Linked DNA regions of Homo sapiens: region 1 is linked to region 2. The links are contacts of gene promoters, found by promoter capture Hi-C in blood cells and fetal thymus (Javierre and others, 2016). All regions are on one chromosome and are shown on one strand. The core of a region is centred on a gene start or on the middle of the fragment in contact, and the rest is flanking DNA. Distances in the headings are between cores, read along the strand shown.

The links. Contacts are between HindIII fragments. The CHiCAGO score rates a contact against its expected background, and 5 or more counts as called.
Region 1: a fragment that was not itself captured here is called in contact with the fragment with the promoter of ARF5 in region 2 in 2 of 17 cell types (fetal thymus and M2 macrophages); the score reaches 6.5 in fetal thymus.

Annotation. Positions count from the first base shown.
Region 1 is chr7:128,065,896-128,073,318 of GRCh38, forward strand. The region is part of intron 16 of SND1 (staphylococcal nuclease and tudor domain containing 1); the gene reads left to right. Among named protein-coding and RNA genes, the nearest start is that of MIR593, 12 kb to the right of the region's middle. RefSeq lists an enhancer at 460-960. The HindIII fragment of the contact is 1,410 bases long and covers 5,280-6,689 here.
Region 2 is chr7:127,583,412-127,591,096 of GRCh38, forward strand. It overlaps ARF5 (ARF GTPase 5), which reads left to right and starts at 5,000. Exons shown (of 6, transcript NM_001662.4): 1 at 5,000-5,154; 2 at 5,672-5,752; 3 at 6,074-6,183; 4 at 6,655-6,726; 5 at 7,552-7,677. The coding sequence starts at 5,088. LOC105375490 (a long non-coding RNA gene) reads right to left here and starts at 6,435. Exons shown (of 5, transcript XR_007060511.1): 1 at 6,345-6,435. GCC1 (GRIP and coiled-coil domain containing 1) reads right to left here and starts at 2,185. Exons shown (of 2, transcript NM_024523.6): 1 at 740-2,185. The coding sequence starts at 1,771. LOC105375489 (a long non-coding RNA gene) reads right to left here. Exons shown (of 3, transcript XR_007060513.1): 3 at 6,458-6,540. RefSeq lists enhancers at 1-814, 3,821-4,447, 4,448-5,073, 5,074-5,700, 5,701-6,326 and 3 more and a silencer at 4,837-5,326. The HindIII fragment of the contact is 7,240 bases long and covers 2,398-7,685 here.

The DNA of each region.
Region 1 (7,423 bases), core at 4,735-7,234, 480 kb after region 2:
GGACAGAATGAGGGCCCCCTGATTCTAGCCACATCCCTGGCACCAGCCTCAGGGAAGAGTGTTAAATCTCCCTCCAGCTTCCAGCACGGGTTTTTCCTGGGAAGATGAACAGTCTGCTTCCTTATTGCCTGCACCAAAGGAACAGATTGCGTCAGTTTGTAAACTGTGTTAGCGCTCGCAAAGGCCTGGAGTCAGCAGGTTTGCATTTCCCAGCAGACCCAGATGATGCTGATGGCAGTGGCTGCTGCCTCACTGCCTCAGGCAGGACCGAAGCTGCCCCCCTACCCCTACCATCCCACCCCTCATCCCTGAGGTAGGGAAAAGGCATTCCAGGCGGGAGAGAAAGCCACCCTGAGCTTCTAGAGCCAGCTCACCCACAGCACAGGCCTTTTCTTTTCAGGAGCCTCTTGGCCCCTCTTGCTGGTGTGCCAGCCCAGGCCTGATTTCCAGGCATTCCTAGCACTCCAATGCCAGAAAAGAGGTTTTCTAGAAAAGCAATCCACTCTGTGGGCTGCGCTTGAAAGAGTTACCTGGTCTGGAGGTGATGGGGGATTAGGAGCAGAGGCGTCAGTGGGGATCAGAACCACATTGCCACAGTAGCACATGGAAAATCCGTGCTGCTGCCTGCCTCTAGCCAGCCCACTCCCCACGGTTGCAGATGGTAACGAGACCCAGGAGGTATTGCATAGGCACAGCCTCTCGCCTTCCACAGCATCGCCTTATTAATTGCATTGTTAATGTTCATCATCTCTGAAAGAAGTCGGTGTGGCTGTGTGTGACCGGGAGTGGAGGGGATGAGCTGGCTGTGTTAAACTGTTACTGTGTTAAGGTGAGGTATCTCTTCAAGTTCACAGTTCTGGCTGTGGCAGCATGCTACAGCCTTCACGCAGCATCAGTGATGGTAGAAAACCCAGCCTTGGGCAAGGCTACCACTGCATGGCAGGAAAGGACCCAAGCTACATGCTGGTTACTCCAGAACACTACTCACATTCTTGAAAAAAGCTGCAGCCAGGATGAGTGGGTTGGGAAGAGGCAGGAGTACCTTGGGCTCCGAGTCATTATTCAGTTCCCGTCTCTCCATTTCCCGCGCCCCCCTGCAAGTTCTCCTACAGGACTTGATCGTTAGCAAATGGGGCTTCCCTGCTTGCCCTTCTCTCCTGTGGAACTGTTGCTTTTCATCTCTCCTGTTGGCTTGCAGGCACAGTCTGTCAGCTTTGCTGCCCCCATTCTCTGACCTCAGAGAATGCAGAGCAGAGAGAACCTTGGAAACTTTGTTCAACTCTCATTTCCCAGATGGAGAAACTAAGCCCAAAGAGAGGTGCAGTGTGCCCAGCCCATAAGAGGCAGGATTGGCACCTGGATCACAGTTCTAGCCCAGGGCCTTTCTCTGCTCCTCAGCTCCTTCTTCCCATCCAGGCCGCTTGCTGTGATTGTTGCTGGTTGCTTTAGGAATATTGAAAGCAGGAATATGGCCAGACAGCACATGGAAATGATGGAGAATTCTGCCTCTAAAGCCTGTCTGTGGGGACTCTGATGTCACCTTCCCACAGGTAGCCCTGAGCAGCCCCACCCTGCTACCTGGAAGAACTTACAGCCAGCACCCCACTTTGTGCAGTGACTTCCTTCCCAGATGCCTCAGGGCAGTGGCGCCCTGTGCTGGGCTCTTTTCTACTTGGGACCTGCCTGTCCTGCTTGAGGCAGCCCACCTTCCTTGGTACGGGAGCATCCTCCACAACTGTTTTCAGGCAACCTACAGCCTCGCAACCCAGGGCTCTGAGGTTGGCTGAGGCTCAGTAATTTTCTGTACTGCCTCAGGCATTGTGCACTGCAGTAACGCCTGTGCACTTGGGGAAGACAGTATCTCTTCTCCATCCTCCCAGAAAGTAAAAAGGGAAAGGCTTGTATGTGTGTGGGGTCTCCCTGTCCTCCCCCCATTGCTAGTAAATCCCCTGTGTGAACGCTCTCCTTTGGGTGCCCTGAGTCATCAAGGGGAATGTGCATCCCCCTGCTGTCTTTCTCTAGTCTCCATTTCTTAATTATTTTGCCCCCAGTGCCCTCGGCTCCCTTATTTAAGCCAGCCTTACCAGAAGCAGCCTCCAGTGCACCTTCTCCCGCCTCACCCTCCCCGCAACTTCACCATGACCTGGAGGAGGCTTTAGGAGAGGGACCTGGATCTTCAGCTTTGCGCCTACTTGGAAGCACTAGGCATCCAGCTTGGCTGCAGGCTCCAGGCGAGTTAAGGACAGACACAGCTAAATCAACCCCCAGGGCAGTCAGAATTTCCTCCGTGGTTTGAAAGCTGAGTTCTTAAATAATCTTCCCCACACTTACCACATGCATGCACATGCTCACTCTCTCCCTCCCCCCACCCCAAACCCTTCTTTCTTTAGGAAAGATTTCAGAATCTGAAGTCTAATTGCAGAGGGCTAGAAGAAGTTGAGAATGTTGACATTTCTAAAGCCATCATCCATTGCCTGGCTTTCACTTCTCTTCCTTTCTCCAGACCCCTCAGCCCTGCATTGTACCCCAGGCCAAGAATATGCCTCACTGCTTAGAGAAGGAGAAGGACTTGGTCCCCACTGCCTGTTTGACTGAAGTAGTTTCTGTTTTAAGGAGCTGACAGAATCCAGACAATGGGGAGAAGAGGAACAGTTTGGGGTGGGGACAGGGACCAAGTGTATATTTCTGGAGCCCAGGGCACTGAGACTGCTCAGAAAGGGGCCGCAGGAAATGAAACAAGTTCCTGGCCACCCCCTTCCTCCATGTTTGATTTCAGCCACGGAGCTGGGGGCTGCTCCATGCTCTTCTTTTCTCCTCCCCCTTCTCCCCTTCCTCATCCCTGGGAAGGGTGAGACCACAGCTCGGCTGGGTGATCACTGAGGTATGTGTGTTGCCTGGGCATGGGGAGCTCTTCCTCGGTAATTAGGAGACATGGAAATTAACAGCCTGTGCCGTTTGTATTAATTTGGTAAATAAGCCAGAACAATTTCATTAGTGGCATATTAATGTGCTTGGGAGCAGGAGGACACGTCCCACTGTGAGGCAGCAGGGCCCACTGGCTGCTCTAGCCCACAGTCAGGCCAGGTCCAGCGTCGAGCTGCTCTCCTGCAGGGCATGGCTGGCTGGCAGCACCCACCGCTTTGGCCCTGTGATGGGGAAAGACCTCCACTGAAGAGAAAGGGATCTGTGCAGGTGGTACAGGGACAGTCACACACTTGAGCTCATCCTATCAACCCCACTTGCCTTACCTTCACTCGGTATTTCATGGGAGGACTCCCCGGGTGTAAGAAACCCAAAGCTTTCAGAGTCAGGGAGAATAAAGGAGCTCATTAAGCAGGGATTGGCCATTTCTGATGAGAAGACCCTTCTCATCAGAGGTATACAGCTCAGCAAAGCAGGACAGCTGCTGAATGTAACCATCCCACCAGGGCATCACTGGCATTTGTTGAAGGGAAGAGGAAGCAGTTTTGTTACCTCATTCAGTGCACAGGACCCCTCCTCATTTTACCATTAAGGAAACAGTCTAAGAGAGGTCAAGTGAATTACCCAAAAATTCACAGCTAGGACTGGGAGTTGATATCTGACTCCAGAATCCATGCTCTTTCTGCCACCTCATGGGCCAGTCAGTGTGCTCAGCTCTGGAGAAATTTCACAGTCTGGAACAAGCTTCCTTCCCCATGGAGCTGACAGTCTACTTGGAGAATGAAGACATTTAGAAATGAAATAACTGCCCCTACCAGGAAGTAAATAATTTATGATGATCGTGTTGAAGCATTTATGTGCTAAGCACTTTTCTAAGTGCTTAACATATTTATATTAGTTCATTTAATCATAACATCCTTGAGGTAGATGATGTTGCAATCCCAGTTTTACAGTAAATAGAGGCACGGAGAACTTAAGTGGCACCCCAGAATTCATGCAGGTCTAGATAGTCTGGAGCCAGAGTCCACACTTATAACCTCCATGCTGTACACTGCCCCACAAGTGCCAAAGGGAGGGTGAACCCATAGGCATTCAGAGGGTGATTCATGGTAGGCCAGGGATCAGGGAAGCCTTCCCGGAGAAAGTGGCATTGAAGCGGGCAAAGGTGCAGTCCAGGTATTCAGCAACCTCAAAATCCCCACCCACTCTGCCAGCATCAAGAGCAGAGAGCAAGAGATGCTGGCAGACCAGCAGGGCTGCAAGTGAGGCAGACTGCAATGGCTGTCAACATCTGAAGGTCACATTGACCTTCAAGCCTCTAGGCTGTTCGCTTCTTAACCAGTTACCACCAAGCCCCTTCCTCAGTGTGGCACCACCTGCCCCTTCTTATAGTCTCTCGGGAGGTACCCCCCTCCCCCAGAACCATGTGTCTTCCTAGGTCTCAGCTTCAGCATGGGCACTAAGTAGAGGGGAATCGAGAGGAGAGCCCTCATCTGTCCCTCGCCCATGCTGCTTGTGTACATGCACACACATACTCTGGTGCCCTCAAGGCCATATCCACCCACATGTGCACGTCAGTGCATGCTCTCATACGAAGCCTGCTCCCAGCCTTCTAGCAGCCTGTGGTAGTCACCTAAGTCACCTAAGGCCTAAAGTCACCTGCCATTATAGGAGGCCTCCTGTGGAAGCTATTGAGTCCAGAGCTCTTCCTGAAACACTCCAAGATGCCCAAGAGATGAGTGGCTATGTTATAGCAGTTTGCAAATTACACAACACTCCACCAGTAGGATCTCATTTAATGCTTGCAGTAGCCAGTTGGACAAGAAGAAATTTCTTGTCTATTTACAGGAATGAGCCTCCCCTAACGTGTCTTCTGTTTGAGGCAACTTGTGAGACATGTCTCTTTATAGTCTCCAGTTTGAGGCAACTTGTGGGAATTAACTCTATGTGTCTATACAGTATACAGTCGATCTTCATTATTCACCGGTTACATATTTGCAAATTCACCAAAATCTATTTTTGTAACCCCAAAATCAATACTCATGGTACTTTTGCAGTCATTTGTGGACATGCACAGAGTGACAAAAAAAATTGAGTCATCTGGCGGGGCACATTTCCATTTTAGGTGGAACAGGGTAGAACAAGACAACACTCTGCCTTCTTGTTTCAGCTCTGATGATATAAACAAGTGTCCTTCTCACAATCTATTTAGCATCATGTTATTGCATTTTTCATGCTTTTTGTTGGTGGTTTCACAGTCTTAAATGGCCCCCAGCATAGAGCTGAAGTGCTGTCTAGTGTTCCTGAGTGCAGAAATACTAGGATGTGCCTTATGGAGAAGATACATGTGTTAGATAAGCTTCATTCAGGCATAAGTCATTGTGCTGTTGGCCATGAGTTCAGTGTTAATGAGCCAGCAACACATATTAGACAAGGTGTCTTTAAACAGAAACACAGAACAAGGTTATTTATTGATTTGATGAAAATATTGTGACCAGAGGCTCACAGGAACCCAAACCTGCATTTCCCCTAGGAGCAATGGTTCAATATTTGCAAATTCTCTCTATAGAACAAAATTACCATAAATAACAAAATTGAACTGTATGTATATATCTCTGTGTCTATCTTTTAATTAAGAGAAGATGTCAGAGAAATTTGAATCCTTGAGTTGAACAAAGAAATAATACTTGTACAAACATAGACCCACATAATGTTACAGTTAAGTCATAACTTCCTGGCAGTCAATGTAAAAGAGAAACATCAAAGGATGATCACACACATACAACCTGCTTAAACCTCTGCTTTCAATCTCCGTAATTCTCCCAGAGTTCAAGAAGCGTCACACCGAATTCCACAGCCTCGTCCAGGCTGAGGTTTGTGGAGAAGGAGAGACACCGCATGGGGTTTGGCTAGAGAGGAGCCAGCCCACCTTCCCCGAGTGCCTTTGTTTGATTGAGAAATTACTGTGGCTGTGGCAGCTGTAATAAAAGGGAACAGAGCCCCATGGGCGACAGCTTTATCGCCATCTACAACCCAGGATGGATTCGGTGGCAGCACTGTGCCCAAGGCCAGAGATTTCTTTCATCTGCGGCTGGCTGGGCCCAGGGACTTGTCAAGCCCAAGTTAGCATATCGATTGCAGGCGACAGGCTGGTTAAGTGTGAAGCTGGTGCTCACCTGCGCAGGAGAGCCCGGCTGCACCCTGCAGTGTTGGCCCCAGGTGTGGCTGCTCATTGCTGGGTTCCTTCTCATGTAAGCCCTGGAGAAAGGCGAGCATGTGGATTGCAGCCTCAGAGAGCGAGGTGTGAATGTGGGGTTTGCCATGTGGGTTGGGGTCTGAGCATTGGCACCTCACAGGATAGACAGCAACTGTGCGTGCCTGGTTGGTTGCCTCTGCAGCGTATCTCTGACATTCTTGCACCAACCCCAGCAACCCAGTGCTAAGAGCCACACTGGCCCACCACAAGCTGTCTAGTGGCCTGCCAGGCCTGGAGAGAGGCCTTGTGTCCAAGCAGGGCAGACATCCTTGGTTTTAGGGAAAGGACACTTGGCTACTAAAATTGTGGAAGACGAGAGGTCAGGGAATGCGGAAACTGATGTGGGCCTGGGCTCAGTGTTGGCTGGGAACTGTACCAGCCTCATTTGCTTTTGCCCAGACATGTGTCCAGGAACCCCTAAACACAAGGCAAGCAACCTCTCTGTTCTTCCTTCAGCTTCCCCAGAATTCCTCTAGGACCTGCTGCTTCTTGAGCTTAGCATGTTTGATAAAGCTTGGCAAGTTAAGATGAGCAAGAGACAGTCTTCTCATGTATCATTTTGCCCCTCACAGGTCTTGTCCACCCCTACCACACTACCCCCGCCACCTCCCCCAGCCCCTGCAGGCATGACAGTCTGTTCCCCATTCCTGGCCTCCCACTGGAGGAGGCGCTCAGTCTTCCAGTGGCCAAGCTTCTCCTTTGTTCCAGCGCCCTGGGCATTTGCAAGGTGGATCCAAGGTGTTGAAACCTGAGCAACCTCAGATTTTGCCCACCTGCCCTTCTCTCCTACAAGAGTAGGTCCTTCAGCAGGTTAGTTGCCAAAATTAGAGATAGGAGAAACTGGTTTTAACACCCACAGACACTGGACTCTGTCGTGAATTCAGGCACTGGGTCAGCCCAGCCCAGAATTGGGGCCAGCACTTACGCCCAGACTCTACTAGTGAGCTGCAGGGTCCCACGGTCCTGGATGGTGGAGGGGGCAGAGGTATGGCAGTGGAAGGAAGGGCTGCTCCTGAAACAGAAGGCTGTGGAAAGGGGGTATTAGGGAGGGGCAGGGTCTTTTCTGCCAGGAGGCAGTGTAGAGAAGGCATTGGGGAAACCTGGATTCTGCTCTCAGCTCTGTCCCTTAATAGCTACACTTCTCCAGTGCCACCTACAGAATCAACATGGACTGGACCTATATGTTCTCCATTATCTCTTTTTCGTTAATAACTCTAATAGACTCCACATATCCCCTTCTATACC
Region 2 (7,685 bases), core at 3,750-6,249:
CTGGCAAGAATGCTAACTAGGGATTTTTCGGTTGATTCAGGAGCTAACAAAAGTTCCTATTACCTGCTTGGATTCTGCAAGACACATATTATACTGAACAATATGAAGCACCTTGGTACATCTGCTATTGTTCTGCTTTCCACCTAACCACATATAATGTGTGTTACTGTTGTTTCTCAGGTGCTTCCTCAAATCCTATTAAGAAATCATACAGCATTCTTTTCCTTATCCAATATTCCTGGAAGTTCAAAACTGCGCTGGATCTCCCTCTCCACATTGAAAGGAGGCACCCTTTCAATACCTGTTCTGGAAAATAGCACTTCTCCAGAACAGGCACATCTTGAGTAAAGGCAATGACAAGAGGTTACTTCTGAGAAAATCCCCTTTGCCTTCGGCCACTCTTCCTAGAGGCACATACCAACAGAAGACACGCTACCTTTTACTATACAGCTGCCACTATACTGCTTCATAGAGCACAGCTGGTAAGATGCCAATGCCCAGAAGTGCAGAGCTGTCTGGCTTCAACCCAGCCTACACTGAGAAGCTCCACATCCTCCTGGAAGCACATATGTCAACACCGCATAGAACAGGACTTCCCAGGTTCACTAGTGGAACTTCTCAGGTGGCATCAAAAATGACAGTATAGACACTTAGCTCTAACTAGCAAAGGAGGAAAAAAACCCTAATATTTCTCACTTCAGGTCAATGGCTGATGTTTGAAAGAGATATGGATAATTACCTTTCTCATTTCCTGCTGTAACTGAGCCTGGAAATGGCTCTTAAGGCGGGCAGCCTCTTCCTGAAGTTCTTGCAGCCGGGGATCTGGCTGATTCTTCTCATCTCGAATGGCCTGCAGTTCACTTTTCAGCTCCTCCACCTCACGGGTCAGCTGCTTGGTCTGCAGTTCAAATCCTTCCATCTGTTCAGCTGCATATGCTCGTCCTGCCAAGGCTTCTCGGGTCTCTTCTAACCTAAGCTCCAAGTCCTGGCGCTGGGTCCTCTCCTCCTGCAGCAGCTTCTGGAGCTCACGCAGCATCAAGGCATGGTCACTCTGCTCTTGGGCCCGATCATGCTGCTGCGTGATAAGCCGGGCTTTGGTTTCTGCTATTTGCTCCTGCAGCCCCTTCAATTCTCCCTCCAGGCGGGCCCTCTCCTCCTCCGCCTTGTTACTGGCATCCTCTAAGTCCTGTTTCATCTTTTTCTTGTCAGCCAAGTAAGAAGCCTCCATGCGGGACTTCTCCTGAGTGACTGTAGCCAAAGAACTGGTCAAAGTAGCCAACTGAGTCTTCAGCTGGTGCAGTCTTTTGTCCACCTCCCCACCTGCAAATGGCCCATCCCCACTGCTACTGCTAACGCCACTCTCGGACCAACTGGCCTCTTCGGACTTTGGAGGTGGTGGTCCACGGGCCGGTCTGTCATCTTCTACCCCAAACTCACCCTTGGTGCTGGTGAGACTGGCCGCAGTATCCAAGCTAGTGGCGGTCCCAGTGCTATCCTCGCTGTGAGTGGAGCACCGGTCATCCACAGAGTCAGGAAAGGTGAGGCCTGGAAGCTGGACACCTGCGAGGCCCACATCTGCCTCGTGGGATACCGACAGCACCTTGATGCTGGCCTCTAATGCCTCTTTCTCCTTCAGCAGGCTTTTATAGGCACGGACCACATCCTTGAGCCGTGCCTGGTACTGGAGAAGCTGCTTCTTCTGGGTCTCTATAGTCTCCAGCAAGTCCTTCTTGCTCGGGCCGCCCCCGAAATTCATCCCAAACTTCTCCATGGAGGGTCTGAACGGATTGCCCCACGTCAGCTTTCCAGCAGAACGGGAGAGGGCCGTGAAGACGCAGGCGGGGGCTTAAAGAAACAGCGAGCGGGCTGTCCGGCGGCGGGCCGCACACCTACTCCACCTAGTTATCCCGGACCTAATGCGGAACGGCCGGACGGACTGGCGAAAGCGGCCGCCCGGTCCCAGGCCCGGAGGGCTGGGGCGGATTCTACCCCGGAGGCGGGGCGACACTGGCACCAGAGGTGCGCACTGCCAGGGCTCGTTAGCGCTGGCCCAGAAGCCGCTCCGCACTCTCCGCTCGTCTGGGCCACAGCAGCCCGGGCCGGCCCCCTCGGCCCACGTCGGCCAGAGGGTTACGCTGAGCTCGGTCCCATCACGACATCCTAACTAAAGCTGCCTGCCGACAACGGCGCTTCCGTGTCCGCTGGAAGTGACGTCAGCGAGGCGCCGCAGGCTCCGCCCCCAGTGGGCCCAAGGTAGGCGGGGCCAAGTCGGCCGGTGGGTGGGCGCGGCCTGTTGAGAACGCAGTGGGGCCGCGAGCGGCAAAAAACAGGCTTGGGAAAGGCGAAGCCAGCAAAGTCGAAGACACCAGAGTGGCACCGGTTTTGTGAGAGCGCCCAAGCTTGACCTCGGGCTACGCTCAGCGAGCGACAGAGCAACGTCGCACTGCATTCTTACCAAACACCCAGGTGAACGACGCATCCAACGATTTGGGAGCTCAGGACCCATGGTCCCTAAAAGGCAACAATTAAGACTCCCATTTAGACCACGAAAACTGCAGTCCTCTATAGCACAGTGCTTGGTACCTAGTAGGCATACAGCCTAATAGTACCCTTCCTTAGTTCTGCTGAGTTGATTCCACAAATATTTACGGAGGGCACTCTATAGCCATGTCTATCCTGAGTGCCAGCTATATACCAGGAGCTCACAAGAGTTTTGCTATTTAGTCTTTACAGTAATTCTTGTAAGCACTATACTCATTAGCACTATTTTACAGATATGAAAACATGAGGCAGAAAGGTTATACGTAACATGCCCAAGGTCACACAGCTAGTAAGTTTAGGAGTTCTAATCAGTCTGATTCTCAACGTATCACGTGCTGTGCCAGATGGTAACACCATTAAGAGACACGACCTTGCCCTCAGGGAGCTCGCAATCTAGTGAGGAACCAGACATACAAATATGTCCTGCTATCACACCAGTATGTCTGGGTATATTCAAAGTGGTATGAAAGTTAAGAGGAAAGAGGCCTGTCTAGGTGAGGCATGGAAGGCTCTTGGGAATAATACTTTGGGATTTGAAGGATGAGTCGTGATTGTCCACCTAACCAGAGATCAGGGAAACTAGCATTCCAGGCAGGTGGAAAAAAATGCAAAGACCTGTAGGGTATCGGAGTTTGACTCACCCAGAAAGCATTCAGTAGCTTAGGGTATGTGAAGGAGGTGACAACAGAGGGGCTGGCACAATAGGTAGGGACCCAACTTATGGCATTTAAATTTTATCTTGGGTTATAGTAAGGCCCTAATGGATTTTAATCTGAAAAGTGGGATGTCATCAAGACTTGTATGACATGTTGGAGGGAACAAGGGGCAGGAAACCTGTGAGGAGACTTTCAGTCATGGGGAACAGAAGGTAGTGACAACAGAGATGGAAGCAAAGAGGCTGATAAAAGAGCTAAATGTAGAATTGACCTAACTTGGTGAACACTAGTTCTGTTATTATATTGGAACTCTCTAAAATGTACTCTTCAGCCTCGTAAAAGCCTTCTTAGGGATGCAAGTCTATGACTGAAGAGAAAAGGAAAGTCATTCACTCACTCATACCTGTTTCCCAAAGTCTGTCCTTGTTACAGACTTTGCAGATCAGGATGGGGCAGGCCCTGGAGGTCTGTTCAGACCCCGTTTCTCAGTGGCCCAAATAACATCAAGCTGTATTATACATAACATTCAGTCACATTATCAAATCATTTTAAGATTCACCATAACCCCTTAAGTTAGAACAAGTCTCATTTTATAGATGATGAAATAACGGAAGAGTTATGAGGAGTGCTGAAGCCAAATCCTCAAGAAATGGCAGAATTAAGATTTGAACTAAAGCCTGAAATCACGTGCTGGCAAGTGGTGGGTGCTCAGTAAATATCTGCTGAAAAAGCAAATGAATGAGTGAAGGTTTTTTTATTCCCAGCTCAGTTTACCTCGAGTCCATAAACAATTGATCCTAGAAGCCCACTGGGAATCCAGAGTAGACATAACACCTACCCTCGCTCCATTGAGAATCTATCAGTCCAGTTCAACTGAACAAGCATTTGTTAGGCCTAATAATGCCTGGCAATGAGCCAGTCTCCACCGCAGAAGAATTTCATTCCTATTTTGCTATTCTCCTCTCAGATGTTAAAATGAGGCAGGGAAATGACATGTGAAGCTCTTTGGGTCTACGGAGTCAAGATCTTCACAAAATCCTGAATGGATGTGCAAGAATAAGCCAGGTCCACAAGTCTGTGGCAAAGTGAGGAACTTCGGCAAAGCGGCCAGCGCCTGGACTGAGAGGCGGGGCCCGCAGGGCGATCCAAACGAAGGTGGACTTCTCCAACAGCCCAGGAGTGGGTCTGTGACCCCGCCGCCCAAGGCCGGGAATCTTACACTGGTTCTGCGGATTGGGAATTAGGAAGTAGGCGTTTTGAGGAACCATGGAAGCTAGCTAGCACTCGGGCACCTTCCCCTACCTCCCGCGCACTCTTCACACGACCACCTACTACGCGCAAGTCCCTCGGTGGAAGATGAGGCAGTAAAGGGAGGACCAAGACCCCTAATCGCAGCTTCCACTCCCCAAAGGAGAGTGGTGCACACGTTCAGTGCTACTGGTTCCCAAGGGCTAAAACCGGAGCCCCTAGGGGCCTGGACGCAACAAACCAAAGCCCAGCGGCCGGCCACTGAAAATGGGGGCAGGGGCCGCTGCGGAGCGATGAATCCTTTCCTCAGCCGCGCTCGGGCTGCCGGTTCGGCGGCCACAGGCCTGGCAGGCGCGTTAGAGACCTAGACCCGTTCCCAAGTAAGGGCCGCACGGGACCCAGGCCAGCAGCGGCAACTCGCGGAGCTTCAGCTCCCCTAGGAGCCAGAGCCGGGGGAGGCGGGGCCGAGAGCCGGGGGCGGGGCCCGGACGGGGGCGGGCCCGCGGTGACGTCGGGAGGGCAGCGACGCGCGGAGGCGGCGGCGGAGCCTCCTCCTGCTGCTGCTGCGCCCCATCCCCCCGCGGCCGGCCAGTTCCAGCCCGCACCCCGCGTCGGTGCCCGCGCCCCTCCCCGGGCCCCGCCATGGGCCTCACCGTGTCCGCGCTCTTTTCGCGGATCTTCGGGAAGAAGCAGATGCGGATTCTCATGGGTGAGGCAGATCGAGCGCGCGGCCCGGACCGGGGCGCCGGCCCCGGCGCAGCCCTTCCGCCCCCGCGTCCCTCCAGCCCCGCTCACCTGGGTCTCTGGCCCCGAGTCACCCACCTCATAACGCCCCGGGGCCTCTGCTCTCGGGCGGGTCCCGGTCTGCATCGCCGACCCCGGGGCCTGACACCCGGAGCTGCGGGCCTGGGTGGGGTGAAGCTCCCTCCGCCCCAGCCCGGCTGGTAAGAAGGGAGGATTCCGCCCTTGGAGACGACTTTTAAAACGAGCGCGGCCTACCTCCCGTGCCCCTTGCCTCCCAGTCCTCTCCCGCTCCGCGCCCTCTTTGGAGTTGGCTCACGCCACCCGACTGCCCTCCAGGCCTCAAAGGTAGATAACGACGCGCACCTGGAGGCGCTCCCGCTCTCCGCCCCAGTCACCATCAGCTGTTGTGGCCTCTCCCTTTCCCTGGTCTCTAGGGGGCTCCCTCGCTCCCATCTCCATCCCTGTGCCCCTTTCCGTTGCAGTTGGCTTGGATGCGGCTGGCAAGACCACAATCCTGTACAAACTGAAGTTGGGGGAGATTGTCACCACCATCCCAACCATAGGTGAGCCCGGGGACGAAGCAGGGAGCGGGAGCGCCGCGGCGGGCCCTCGCGGGGTCTGCTCCCAGTTCTGCCACTTTTCTGGAGCTGACCCTGACACCAGATACAGCTATTTGAGAAGTGGGTCAGGGTATCTCTACGTGGATACCGGAGGCAGGGTGGATGTGACCTAGCCCCGCCCTGTTGACCGCCAGTTCTGGGGTTCTGTTCCCCTGGGCCTTGATCATTGCCTTCTGGTTTTGTGTCCCTGCTGAAATCTAAGTAGTTTTAGTGAGTTCCTTTCTTTCAGGAGTTTTCTCATCTTTTTTTTCCAATTATCTGCAGGCTTCAATGTAGAAACAGTGGAATATAAGAACATCTGTTTCACAGTCTGGGACGTGGGAGGCCAGGACAAGATTCGGCCTCTGTGGCGGCACTACTTCCAGAACACTCAGGTGGAGTGTTGGGAGGGGACTTTCTAACCCCACGGGAAAAGGTGTTAGGGCTGGGAGAACAGAATTGTTGGCCTAGGCTGGGCCCCCAGGCCAAGGAAAAAACCCTTCCCCACTTCTACCCCTTCTGTTTGGCTATCCCCTACTCACTCTTCAGAACTCACCTTAGTCTTCCCCAGCTTGGACTTCTCTTTAGAAGCAGGATTCTGGGACCAGGCTGCCTGATTTAGCCCTCATAACATGTCTTTATTTCCTTGCACATCTTTGGATAAACTACTTCCTCTTTGCAGTGGGGTCTCTAGTTTGTGCCATGACTCCTGTAGAGCTTCTATAGAGTTCTGTAAACTTCTGTAGAGTTTACTAGATGAGAAGGATTGACACAATTACAAATGGGAAGAAAACAGAAAGGGCCACACTACGGTATGTCCCAGGCAGAAGTGATTGCTTCTCCTTTCTTCCTTCCTTCCTGCCCAGGGCCTCATCTTTGTGGTGGACAGTAATGACCGGGAGCGGGTCCAAGAATCTGCTGATGAACTCCAGAAGATGGTGAGTACCCAGAGCCCTGGGAACTGAGCCCTCAGCTTGGGGACAGAGTGATCTCTGTAGTGGTATAGAAGTCAGGGAGCCCCCAACAGGCATTGAAGACCAGGAATATAAGTTTTTCTTTGTGGACAGACACATTGTGTATCTCACCCTGTTTTGGATGGGAGTGACTTTTTCACTTTTTCTGTGCATTGTCTTGTCTTTTTTTTTTTTTGAAATGGGAGTTTTGCTGTTGTTGCCCAGGCTGGAGTGCAATGGTGCAATCTCGGCTCACTGCAACCTCCGTCTCCCGGGTTCAAGCAATTCTCCTGCCTCAGCCTCCCAAGTAGCTGGGATTACAGGCGCCCGCTGCCATGCCCAGTTAATTTTTGTATTTTTAGTAGAGACGGGGTTTCACCATGTTGGCCAGGCTGGTCTTGAACCCCCAACCTCAGGTGATCCACCCGTCTTGGTCTCCCAAAGTGCTGGGATTACAGGAGTGAGCCACTGCGCCCGGCCGCATTCTCATGTCTTTACATCTGAGTCTGAGAAGTTGTGGGAGAGATGGGACTTATATGTGGCAAAGAGAAACATTTTACATTCCTGCCTTTTCCATTTGGAAATGTTGTCATTTTGCCTAGGCAAGTACTCAAATTAGGAAAAGGTCTTTCTTTTCTGGACTTATGGGCTCAGGTCACCTCAAGCTCATTTACAACTATGTCTTGTCTTCAACGGCAGACTGCACAATACTTTTTTTTTCCAATCAAGATGCTAGGAGGTAGAAAGGGAATTCCCCAACACAGTAGAGGAGACGCAGCCTGGGTCCCACCTTCTCTTCTCCTCTCTCAGCTGCAGGAGGACGAGCTGCGGGATGCAGTGCTGCTGGTATTTGCCAACAAGCAGGACATGCCCAACGCCATGCCCGTGAGCGAGCTGACTGACAAGCTGGGGCTACAGCACTTACGCAGCCGCACGGTAGGGGT